2 separate regions of the Homo sapiens genome follow, and region 2 is linked to region 1. The links are contacts of gene promoters, found by promoter capture Hi-C in human tissues and cell types (Jung and others, 2019). All regions are on one chromosome and are shown on one strand. The core of a region is centred on a gene start or on the middle of the fragment in contact, and the rest is flanking DNA. Distances in the headings are between cores, read along the strand shown. Region 1 holds the start of P2RY2 (purinergic receptor P2Y2). Region 2 overlaps FCHSD2 (FCH and double SH3 domains 2).

Evidence for each region. The method cuts DNA at HindIII sites, captures the fragments that hold promoters and counts their contacts. A contact is called where the count stands out against the background at its distance.
Region 2: a fragment that was not itself captured here is called in contact with the fragment with the promoter of P2RY2 in region 1 in 2 of the 25 tissues and cell types used here (dorsolateral prefrontal cortex and mesenchymal stem cells).

Annotation. Positions count from the first base shown.
Region 1 is chr11:73,215,862-73,220,942 of GRCh38, reverse strand. It overlaps P2RY2 (purinergic receptor P2Y2), which reads right to left and starts at 2,662. Exons shown (of 3, transcript NM_002564.4): 1 at 2,511-2,662. It overlaps LOC124902709 (a long non-coding RNA gene), which reads left to right and starts at 2,750. Exons shown (of 3, transcript XR_007062773.1): 1 at 2,750-2,916; 2 at 4,904-5,081. RefSeq lists enhancers at 1,391-2,109, 2,110-2,828 and a silencer at 2,542-2,751. The HindIII fragment of the contact is 8,220 bases long and covers 1-5,081 here.
Region 2 is chr11:72,982,695-72,987,775 of GRCh38, reverse strand. It overlaps FCHSD2 (FCH and double SH3 domains 2), which reads left to right. Exons shown (of 20, transcript NM_014824.3): 7 at 2,660-2,714; 8 at 3,560-3,688. Among named protein-coding and RNA genes, the nearest start is that of FCHSD2, 160 kb to the left of the region's middle. RefSeq lists a silencer at 1,865-2,065. The HindIII fragment of the contact is 4,178 bases long and covers 391-4,568 here.

The DNA.
Region 1 (5,081 bases), core at 1,413-3,912:
AGACTATAGCCATTAAGTCAAAGCTCTCATGGGGTCACTCATGAGGCCCTGGTGATACCCTCACACCTTCTTAGCTGGTCCTTGGGGGATCCACAGCCTTAGAGCCCCATGCATCCAGGGCAGGAGGGAGACAGAAACAGAGGAGTCACAGCCTCACTCCACAGCCCAAGCTTGGTAGTCATTTCTGAGGGTTGCCCACTGGGATCCCCAACCCCTCTGACCAGACTCCAAGACAGCCCAAGGCAGGGAGAAGAGGAGAAAGAGCGACAAGCCTTTTGTGCCAGAGCCTCCCCACACACATACTCTCCCATGCAGGATCTTACTTGTTCTGGCCTCCTTTTAGAGCCTGGCAGGGCAGGAACTGGTCATTCAACCAGCTGGGAACAGAGCTGGGATGAGATCAATTGCAGGTCCCCAAATTCCTCAGCAGGAGCATCTGAAGGCTCAGGGAAAAGTGTTTGGCCAAGGGGCAAGGGCTCAATTAGGGTTCAAACAACTCCTGGGACAGTTCTAGTGTTGACATCACAAATGCCCTGACCTCCCTGCACTTGGCAATACTTGATCCATTCTCCATCCTGCAGCCAGAGAGCGCTTTCTGAAATGCCGCTCTGACCATGAAACACCTCTGCTCATAAATTTCCATGGCTCCCTATTGCCTTCAGGATAAAATCTCTAGGTCTTTAGCCTGGGCACTCTAGGTCCTACAGTGTCCCAGATCACACTGTTCTGGCAAACTGTGCCACCCACTTTGATAACCAGATTCTGGTTTGCCCTTCTTTGTAGTGACATGGAGCTCCCCTGCAGCCGGGCCTTTACTGGAGAAGCTGGTGCCAGAGACAGGGGATGGGCGCCACTGCTGCTCTCTCAGTTCAGCTCAGCCCTGTGCAGGGTGCTGGCAACACAGAAATAATAAGACCCAGTTTCTGCCCTCCAGGAGCCCCTAGACCTGGGAAGAGGAAAGGAGGAGACAGACATAGATCATGACGGTTCAGGTGGGACCAGGGCTGTCAGCCCCAGGCCTGTAGGGGCCTAGAAGAGGCTCCAACCCAGCTGTAGGGATCAAGGAAGGCTTTCCAGAGGAGAGGACATCTGAGCTGGGTCCCAAGTCTGGGTAGTTCTCCAGTTGAGGAAGGTGAGAGTAGGAGGGCTTATCAGAGAGGGAGTGTAGAATATGCAACAGGCCAGGGGCAAGAAATGAGAGACTCCAGGCAGCTGCTGCAAGGTAAAGAGTCAGGCGGGAGAGGTGGCTGGAAAGGCTGGCAGGCCCCAGTTATCAAATACCTTAAGTCCCAGGCTACAGGGTTCAGGCTTGGTCCTGTGGAAGGCTTGTGCCCTAGGGAGGGGCACAGTTGGGATTCTGGTTCTGGGAGGCTCCTTCCAGGGACTGACTTCCCATCCCCAAGCTGTGAGCCTGCCCATGGGGGGACACTGGTGCTGAACATGACACACTCATCAGCTCCTCAACAGCCCTCAAATTCCTTATCATTAGTCCCTTCTTACAGACGAGGCCACTGAGGCTCAGAGAAAGGACGGCTTGCCCAGGCCACACAGTGGCCAAGACAGGATTGGAACATAGATCTCTGAGTCTCCAGAGCTCTCTTGTGGACCTGTCTGCTCAGAGAATCTTCTTCCTTCCACTTCCACCCACAGGTAATAAACTTGCCTGGGTCTCCACCCAGATCCTCAAAACTCATAATTATTTCAGCTTAGATCCAAAACAAACCAGGCAGATCAGGCTGTGGTCCTGGGAAGCTGGGGATGCCATGCTGAGAGGAACAGCAGCCATGGACCCCACAAATCCCGAGCTGGCAATTCTGGTCTCCAGCAGTCCCCAACCCTTGGGCTGCGCTCCTGGAGGACCCCAAGAGGGCCACTGGCAGCCTTCGGGTTGGGGGGTGGGGTATCGCCTTTCTCCTGACTGACCCTTTCTACCGCACCATTTGCCAGATTAAAAGCCCGGGGACAGAGGCTTAACTGTCCTTTCTGGCCACTCCCTCCTCCCCCGCCCACTCCCTGCAACTGCCCCCTCAACATTACCAATGGTAGGTGGCCACCCAGAGTGACCCTGGGGTTAGGACAGTGGTAGGGGGTCTCCAGGGGTTCGCGTCTCTGGGCACCGGCCACCGCCTCACGCCACGGGGACGCTCACATCGGAGCACACACAGACAAGTTCCGCAGGCTTGGCCAGTCGCCCCGAGGGGCGCACACACTCACCCGCTAACACGCAGACCTCCCCAGTACGCTGACGCGCACAGCCTCACTACTGGGGCGCCCGTCCACACTCACCGAGACCGACGCTCCCGTGGAGACAAAGTTCAACCACGGACCCACAGGCGCGTTCAAGCCGTCCAGTTATGCGCTACACGCCGGCTCGCAACTGTGCCCCGGGGCGACAGCCGCTCCACAGCGCCCTCCCCTGCCCCGCGCCCAGTCCGCACCTGCGCCAGTCTGGCCCGCCGCTTCCCCGGGCCTCTCCCAGCGCCTTGTTCCCTCCAGACGCCCCACCCCACCTCTCGCCACTGCGCTGCGCTTCTCCTCTCAGGGTGCCGTCGCCGCCGCTCCCGGGTGCCAGTGCCCGGGTCCCGCCGCAGCCGCAGAGACCCACGTGCCTGGGAGCCCGGCTACCCACCTCCCTGCGCTGTTCCCCAACCCCGAAGCCGGGCCAGGCAGGGGGCGGGGCGGACTTTTGACTGACCCTGGCACCGCCCTCAACCCGCCCGGGTAGACACCGCGCCACCCGCTCCGGGACGCCGCCCAGCGACAAGGCCGCGGGGTCAGCGTGTCTGTACCGGTGCTGCAACGGGAGGGTCGGGCGGCGACGCTCTCACTGCCGGGCCAGAAGGAGGCCTCCCGGCTCCCTCACGCTAGAAGGGAGCTGGTTACCAGAGGTTTTCAGAGACGCCAAAGTTTTGCCAGGTCAGCCCGGTGCCTGCGTGGCCCACTGCGGGACCTTTGCGCCCAGCCACCGCGCCACCCTACCCCTGTCCCGCCCCTGCCCCAGCCCGGCTGGCCAGGAAGGGACCTACTGGGAGATACCTGCTCGGAACCCCAGGCTAAGGACGTACCTCCCTTGCTTGAAAGTGGGGGAAGGGGGTGCCTCTCTCCATTACCGTGGTTAGGAAAGCAGGGTACTCAGGATCCCGCCTCTCCCGTGCTCCCCACTTTCCCTGCCTTAATCTTATCAGCAGCTCCCTGAACTCCCCACTCTGGCCCCTTATCTTGAGCTGCTTTACCTCTCTTCTCTGTCGTCAACCCCACTCTAATGGCCTTCCCTGGTCGGGCTACCGGCTGCATGTCTGACCCGTTCGGAGACTGTGAGCTCCCGAGGGCAGGAACCAGGTCTGCCTTCTTCCTGCTGCTGTCCTAGAGGTCCTGGGAGGTGCTCAATCCTTGAAGGTGTGAATGGATGAATGAATGAGCACCCCGCCTCTCTCTCATTTCTGGTCTAGGAATCAGGAGTGTAGGTTCCTGTCTGGCTTCAGCACTGACTCTGGGAGACCTTGACCCAGTTCCATTCCCTGGCAGGGTCTTCTTTCCTGTGAAATGGAGCCAATCGCTCCGCTGGCTGGACAAGTGCAGAGGAGGCCTCTTCCTGTAGCCAAGGAACTTGCCCCGGGCCTTCGGGGCCTTGGGCCCTCTTGGGCTCCATATCAGCTGACTGGGCCTGGCTGCCAGGAAGGGTGCTGGCTGCAGCCCCACCAGGAGCAGTAGCAGAGTGGACACACAGCCCATAGTGGCTGAGCCGCCTCTGCAGTCCTGCTGGGGCCTTTGCTTGGGAGACACAAAGGCCCCTTGTCTAGCCTCCTGCGCCTATTGTCTAAGCTGGGCCACGCACCTTCCAGGGACCTAAGTATCCTCATAGCCCGAGTTATAGGGCCTAGGCCTTCAGGTTCCAGTGTGGGGAAGACCCTTTGGGCACTGGAACTCCAGCCAACCCTCTCTTTCTCTCCCCTCTTCCAAAACTTCAAACCTTATACTGTCACTGCCATTTAGCCCAGGAGAAACAAGTTTCTTTGACGCCAAGTTGAGGACCCAGGCTCGACCTTAGCCTTCAGCGGGCAAATCTGGTTGGTGGCCTGCCCAGGGCTCTGCCCCTGCTCTGGCCCAATTCCCTTACTTTACAGCTGAGGAAACTGCATTCCTGAGACATACAGCGTTTCAGCTACCACACAGGTGACTTAGTGAGGCTTGAGGAGCAGAGGAAGGGGCCTAGTCCTTGAACCCCATAGCCTTGGGTTTAGATTCCAGTCTTACCTCACCTGTCCTATGACTCCTCTCTGAGCCTGAGTTTCCTCTTTTGCAAAAGGGAGTAATACTAATCTCTCACTTGCTGGCCTGTCTTAAATTTTTTGAGAAAGGGCCTCACTCTGTCACCCAGGCCGTAGTGCAGTGGCATGATCACAGCACACTACAGTCTCTATGTCCCAGGGCCAAGGGATCCTCCCATCTCAGCCTCCCAAGTAGCTGGGAATACAGGCACATGCCACCATGCCGGGCTAATTTGTAAATTTTTTGTAGAGATGGGATCTCCCTGTGTTGACCAGGCTGGTCTCAAACTGCTGAGTCCAAGCAGTCCTCCTGCCTCGGCCTCCCAAAGTGCTGGGATTCCAGGCATGAGCCCCTGCACCCTATCCTTAAATTCTTTTTTCATGGTTTTATTCATCATCCCAAGCTGTCTGGGCTCAAGGCGTTAGTATCCCATGCAATGAGGGCCTAGAAGTTTCGTCTCCTGACATCCTCCCCAGGCAGTCCCATCGCTGGGTTTCAGAGGCCATCAAGCCCAGCAGGCTTCAAATCCCCCAACAGAGTCCCCCTTACCTGGGGCTGCCTGGGGAACTCCCATCCCACTTCAACTTGAGCACCTTTGCCTTTGTATTTTTATTTATTTACATTTCCTGGTAAGAATTTGTTGCAAGCACATGAAAGATTTTGTGGCTGAAGTAATGTAAAACCATTGATCAAACCGGAAATTGAGACACAGCCAGCGTCACACAACAGGCCATCTGAAAGGCTGGAATAGCATCGAGGGAGTCTCCCTGGAACCAAGCAGCCAAGGCAGGCTAATGGTGAAGGCCCAGGCA
Region 2 (5,081 bases), core at 1,230-3,729, 230 kb after region 1:
ACAGAGAATTGACAGATTTGTAAAGCATGTATAAACAAATAATTTAGCCACAGCCCACAGGATGAACATGAGCACAGTGGAGGGGCGTTTCTGAGAAGTGGGGATTTGATAGGGTCTGATTCACAGAGCTGATCACAAGGAATTGCCTTCTAACATGACCCAAATTCAGAGGGGATACAGCAAGCTAGACATATTAATATTAACTTTTCAACTATAGAGTAAGGAATGCCACTTTATCTTCATTTATTCGCAGTTTGTTGAATACTTTATATTGGATATGGTGAGTACAGAGATGAGTAAGGTAAGCTTTGTGCCCTCAAGGAATTTAAGGCCTAGAATTAGAAACTCAAAGAAATCAAGTGCCTAAAGTCACTTAATATTAACTAATAACTTACTTGCAGTAGTAATGTGAAAACACTTTTAGGAAAGCCTAGAAAATATAGAGGTTAATTTTGCCTAATGATAAATGAAAGCTTTATAGAAGAAGTGATGTTTGGATAGAATCTTGAGGAATGAGTATAAATTTTCTAAGTAGAGATAAGGAGGAAGATCAGGAAGGGGAAGTTAAACTGTACTACCTATAGTTTTTATAGATGATTTGATAGATGGTGTGGAGATGCACACATTAGGAGAGACCATAGAAGGAAGAGGGATACAATTTGAAGGAGATGATGAATTTCATTTTGGATATGTTTATTCTGAAGAGCCTGGGAAACACTGGGGTGAATATGTTTGGAAGGTAGTCAAATATCTGGCACTTAAATGAGAATTTGGGCCTCAAGATCTCGCTTTGAGGGTCAGTTGCCTATCAGATGGTAGTTACATAGTATATAGAATAGATGAGAAGTTGAGTTTGGAACCCCAAGGAACATTAATTTTGAAGGGTAGGTGGTAAAGAGTAGCACGCGGTATAGTTCATTATTTGTGTAGTGTTTGGGTGTAAAAATCCTGCCTTATTTTTTCTAGATTGAAATGTTTGAGAACAGGTACTATTTTATTCTATCTATCACTAATACCTACCTTAATACTACACAAGAAGTATATTAGGATTAGGAAATAAAGCAGAAGCCAGAAATTTAAAACCTTATATTGGAAGATCTACATGCAACTCAGCCTATTTGGGTAATGACTGTAAAAAAAGGAGAACTGGGAATATCCCCAAACACAGTCTTATTCTGAAAAGGCTTTCTTAGAGATTTGAGTTTGTGGCCTTTACTTTTCTAGATAAAATAAACAGGAATATGATTAATAAAAGTAAAATAATTGGGGCCGGGCACGGTGGCTCACGCCTGTAATCCCAGCACTTTGGGAGGCCGAGGCGGGTGGATTACAAGGTCAGGAGATTGAGACCATCCTGGCTAACATGGTGAAACCCCGTCTCTACTAAAAATACAAAAAATTAGCTGGGCGTGGTGGCAGGCGCCTGTAGTCCCAGCTACTCGGGAGGCTGAGGCAGGAGAATGGCATGAACCCAGGAGGCAGAGGTTGCAGTGAGCAGAGATCACGCCACTGCACTCCGACCTGGGCAACAGAGCGAGACTCCGTCTCTAAATAAATAAATAAAATAAAGTAATTATGAAATATGACTATGACAAGGTAAAAAATAACAGGAATCTTTTAAACCCAATTTTTTTAACAATGGGGAAGTAGTTGGGCTGCATATGTGTTCATCCCTGAATGTTTTCTCTTGTTAGAAAAATAAGAGGCTGCTTTTCCTATCCTCTTCACACTGGCTTTGCAAAGACTAACTGCTCCATCATCCAGTCCCAAACTGGCCAGCAACTTTACTTCATGAGGCACAGCTGCCAACACATGTATTGAATTCTCTCATGGAAATCACCCTGACACTGAAGTCAGGACAAACATTGCAGCTTTAAAAAAAAAATCACTGGTCCTGGGAGTGTTGCTTGTTCCCTAGCATTTGTCTGTTGACTTTCTCCATATGGTTATCTGCAGCTGTTTGGGTAAAATCAACATGTTTGTACTACCTATTGTTAGATTATGGTTACTCTCCCAAACTGAAAAAGGATCAAGGGAAATAAGAACCCAAGAGTGGGAGAAGATTACATCATACAGGGCAGAGTCCCAGGACTTTCTCAGTAAGTTCAGAATACCCCCTTAGAGCAGAGGAGGCACACAGGCAGGTACCCAAACAAGAAGTACTTTTAATGGTGGAAATAATAGAAGTAAGGACTTCATAGAGCCTATTGTTAGAGTCTTTCACACACAGCCCTGAAAGTTTGCTGACGCTTGCCTCCATAGGTTGATTGTCCCTGGGTCTCTCTAACCTTTGCAGGAACTAAAGTGTATGAAGTTGTATGGTACTGAGAATAGTCTATAATTTGATGGCTCTTGTTTATTAGGAGACACCAATATATTTTGATTTTTTTTTGGTCAAGTTTTTTTTTTTTTTTTTTTGGTCATTCTGGATATTTGTCTTATATTAATCCCAGTATTTCCTGTTTTACCATGATAATAAATTCTTCCTGTAGTAAAATAAAGGAAAATAATCATTACTCTTGGTTTTCCATTTTTTCATTCTTTTTTAGAGCAGTATCTTCAAAAAAGATTATTTTTAAATTTTAATAATATATTTAGTAATTTTATTGTGATATAATTAGATGATTTTATTAAACATACTTTTCTATTTTTATTATAGATCTAAACTTAGTCTTTTTCAATCAAGAATCAGTTTACAGAAGGCAAGTGTAAAGGTAAGTTTTCAATAAGTGTATTTCACAACTGAGAAACCTCTTAGCTTGTAAAACAGAGAATTGGATCTTTGAGGGTGGAGGTGGATTATTTCTACCTTAGAGAAGCATTTTAAAGTCACTGACTCAGGGAGGAACTTTCCCTCCCAGTTCATGGGGGTTTTGCACCCAGCTGTCAACACCTTGGACACACTTGCTTCTCAAGACTGCATTAGGGATAAGTTTCTGGACCTTACCTGCTTAGGCAGCCTGTTGTCTTTAGCTCTTAGTCCAAGAGACTTAATCCGGGGGCTTTGGAAAGCTCTACAAAATCTATTTCGTTTAGATTTAGACCCCTGAGTGATATTCTGGGCCAGATGTGAGTGAGTTTTTCCTTCGGAAACTTCACACTGTGGAATGCCTGATTAAGTAAGCTTAGAGACCTGGCTGTGGCTGCCAGGCTTCAAACTAGCATGCAGTTCATCTGGCACATTAGGAGTGCTGATTTTTAAAAAACTGTTTTCTAACTCCACTAGATTTTACCCATACCTTTGAAGATAAGGTACTTATTTCAGAACCTTTATTTAGTCATTTGAATAAATGGGCAAAATATTTTTAAGTTATCTACAAAGCTTTAGAAGTATGTTAAGCAAATATTTGAAAATGCTCCTGCCCTGTATAACAGTTCTAGTCACTGTTTCATTCCTTAGTAGTGATGAATAATTTTTATATACGTATAAATGTTTTCCGCACGTGGTTACCTTTATTCTTGTTGGGGAGCCATTAATTGCAAACTAAGAGTAGGATTCCTATGTGTTTTGCAGTACAATATCAGTTTGCACTGATTATTTTATTTTGCTATGTTTTAGTTAAAAGCCCGGCGATCTGAGTGTAATTCCAAAGCTACCCACGCAAGGAATGATTATCTTCTTACCCTAGCGGCAGCAAATGCACATCAGGATCGCTACTATCAAACAGATTTAGTTAACATTATGAAGGTAATACAGCTTTCATATCTATGGTAATTTTACTTCATTGAAAACAAAAACAACTTAAGTTGGGTGTTGGGTTTATGGGATTGAATCTATAAAAGAGTAGCCAGGCTATGTTGCATCTCATTGGAATATACTTGTTATTGTTTGGATAGCATCTGTTTCAGATAATTTGGAATTAATTTTTAGTTAAGAAAATGTTTACAGACAAGTCACAGTAAAGGATTATATTATTCCCTAGGTGCGGCAAACATTTGTTATCTAGTGGTTATTGATGTAGAAGATACAAGAGTGATGTAAGAAATAAAATAATGACTCAAACTGGGAAACTACTTCTGAGCTATTTTATGAGACTCATGTCATGGTTTCAATAAATTATTGAAGCTAGGCAGAATCTTCAGGTATCTTCTGAATCATCGGAGAAAGACATTTTAGCATAATTTTTGTTAGATTGTATCTGTATTTTTTGAAAAATTTTTATAAGAAAAGTTTTATGCAAAAGAATATTTCTATTAAAAATATATTTTTATAGTGTATCTCTTAGCCTGAATTTTTTATTAACTACAATTTTGGCCACAACTATGTCTAATGATAATTATGAAGCTTTTTTTAATTTTAATTTTTTAGAGACAAGGTCTCGCTCTGTTGTCCAGGCTAGAGTGCAGTGATGATCACGGCTCACTGCAGCCTTGAACTGCCAGGCTCAAGCAATCCTCCCGCCTCATCCTCCTGAGTAGCTGGGATCCAGGTGCATGCTACCATGCCTGGCACCTTTCTTTTATTTATTTTTTTTTTTTTTTGAGACGGAGTCTCGCTCTGTCGCCCAGGCTGGAGTGCAGTGGCGGGATCTCGGCTCACTGCAAGCTCCGCCTCCCGGGTTCACGCCATTCTCCTGCCTCAGCCTCCCAAGTAGCTGGGACTACAGGCGCCCGCCACTACGCCCAGCTAATTTTTTGTATTTTTAGTAGAGACGGGGTTTCACCGTTTTAGCCGGGATGGTCTCGATCTCCTGACCTCGTGATCCGCCCGCCTCAGCCTCCCAAAGTGCTGGGATTACAGGCATGAGCCACCGCGCCCGGCCCCTTTCTTTTATTTTTAGAAACAAGAGTCTTGCTATGTTGACCAGGCTGGCCTCAAACTCCTGGCTTCAAGTGATCCTCCCTCCTAAGCTTCCCAAAATGCTGGGATTACAGGTGTGAGCCATTGTGCTTGGCTATTTTTTATTTCTAAAAAAACTTAGATTTTTAAAAAATTTCATTACGTTTATCCTGAATTTATGGGTAAAATTGCACATTACTATTTGATGATTTTGAGCTGCGTACGGGACAAACAAAAGAGTATGTTCAGTAGCTATATGAAGATGTCTGTCCTCTGGGTATTACTCTGAAATGCAGATAGA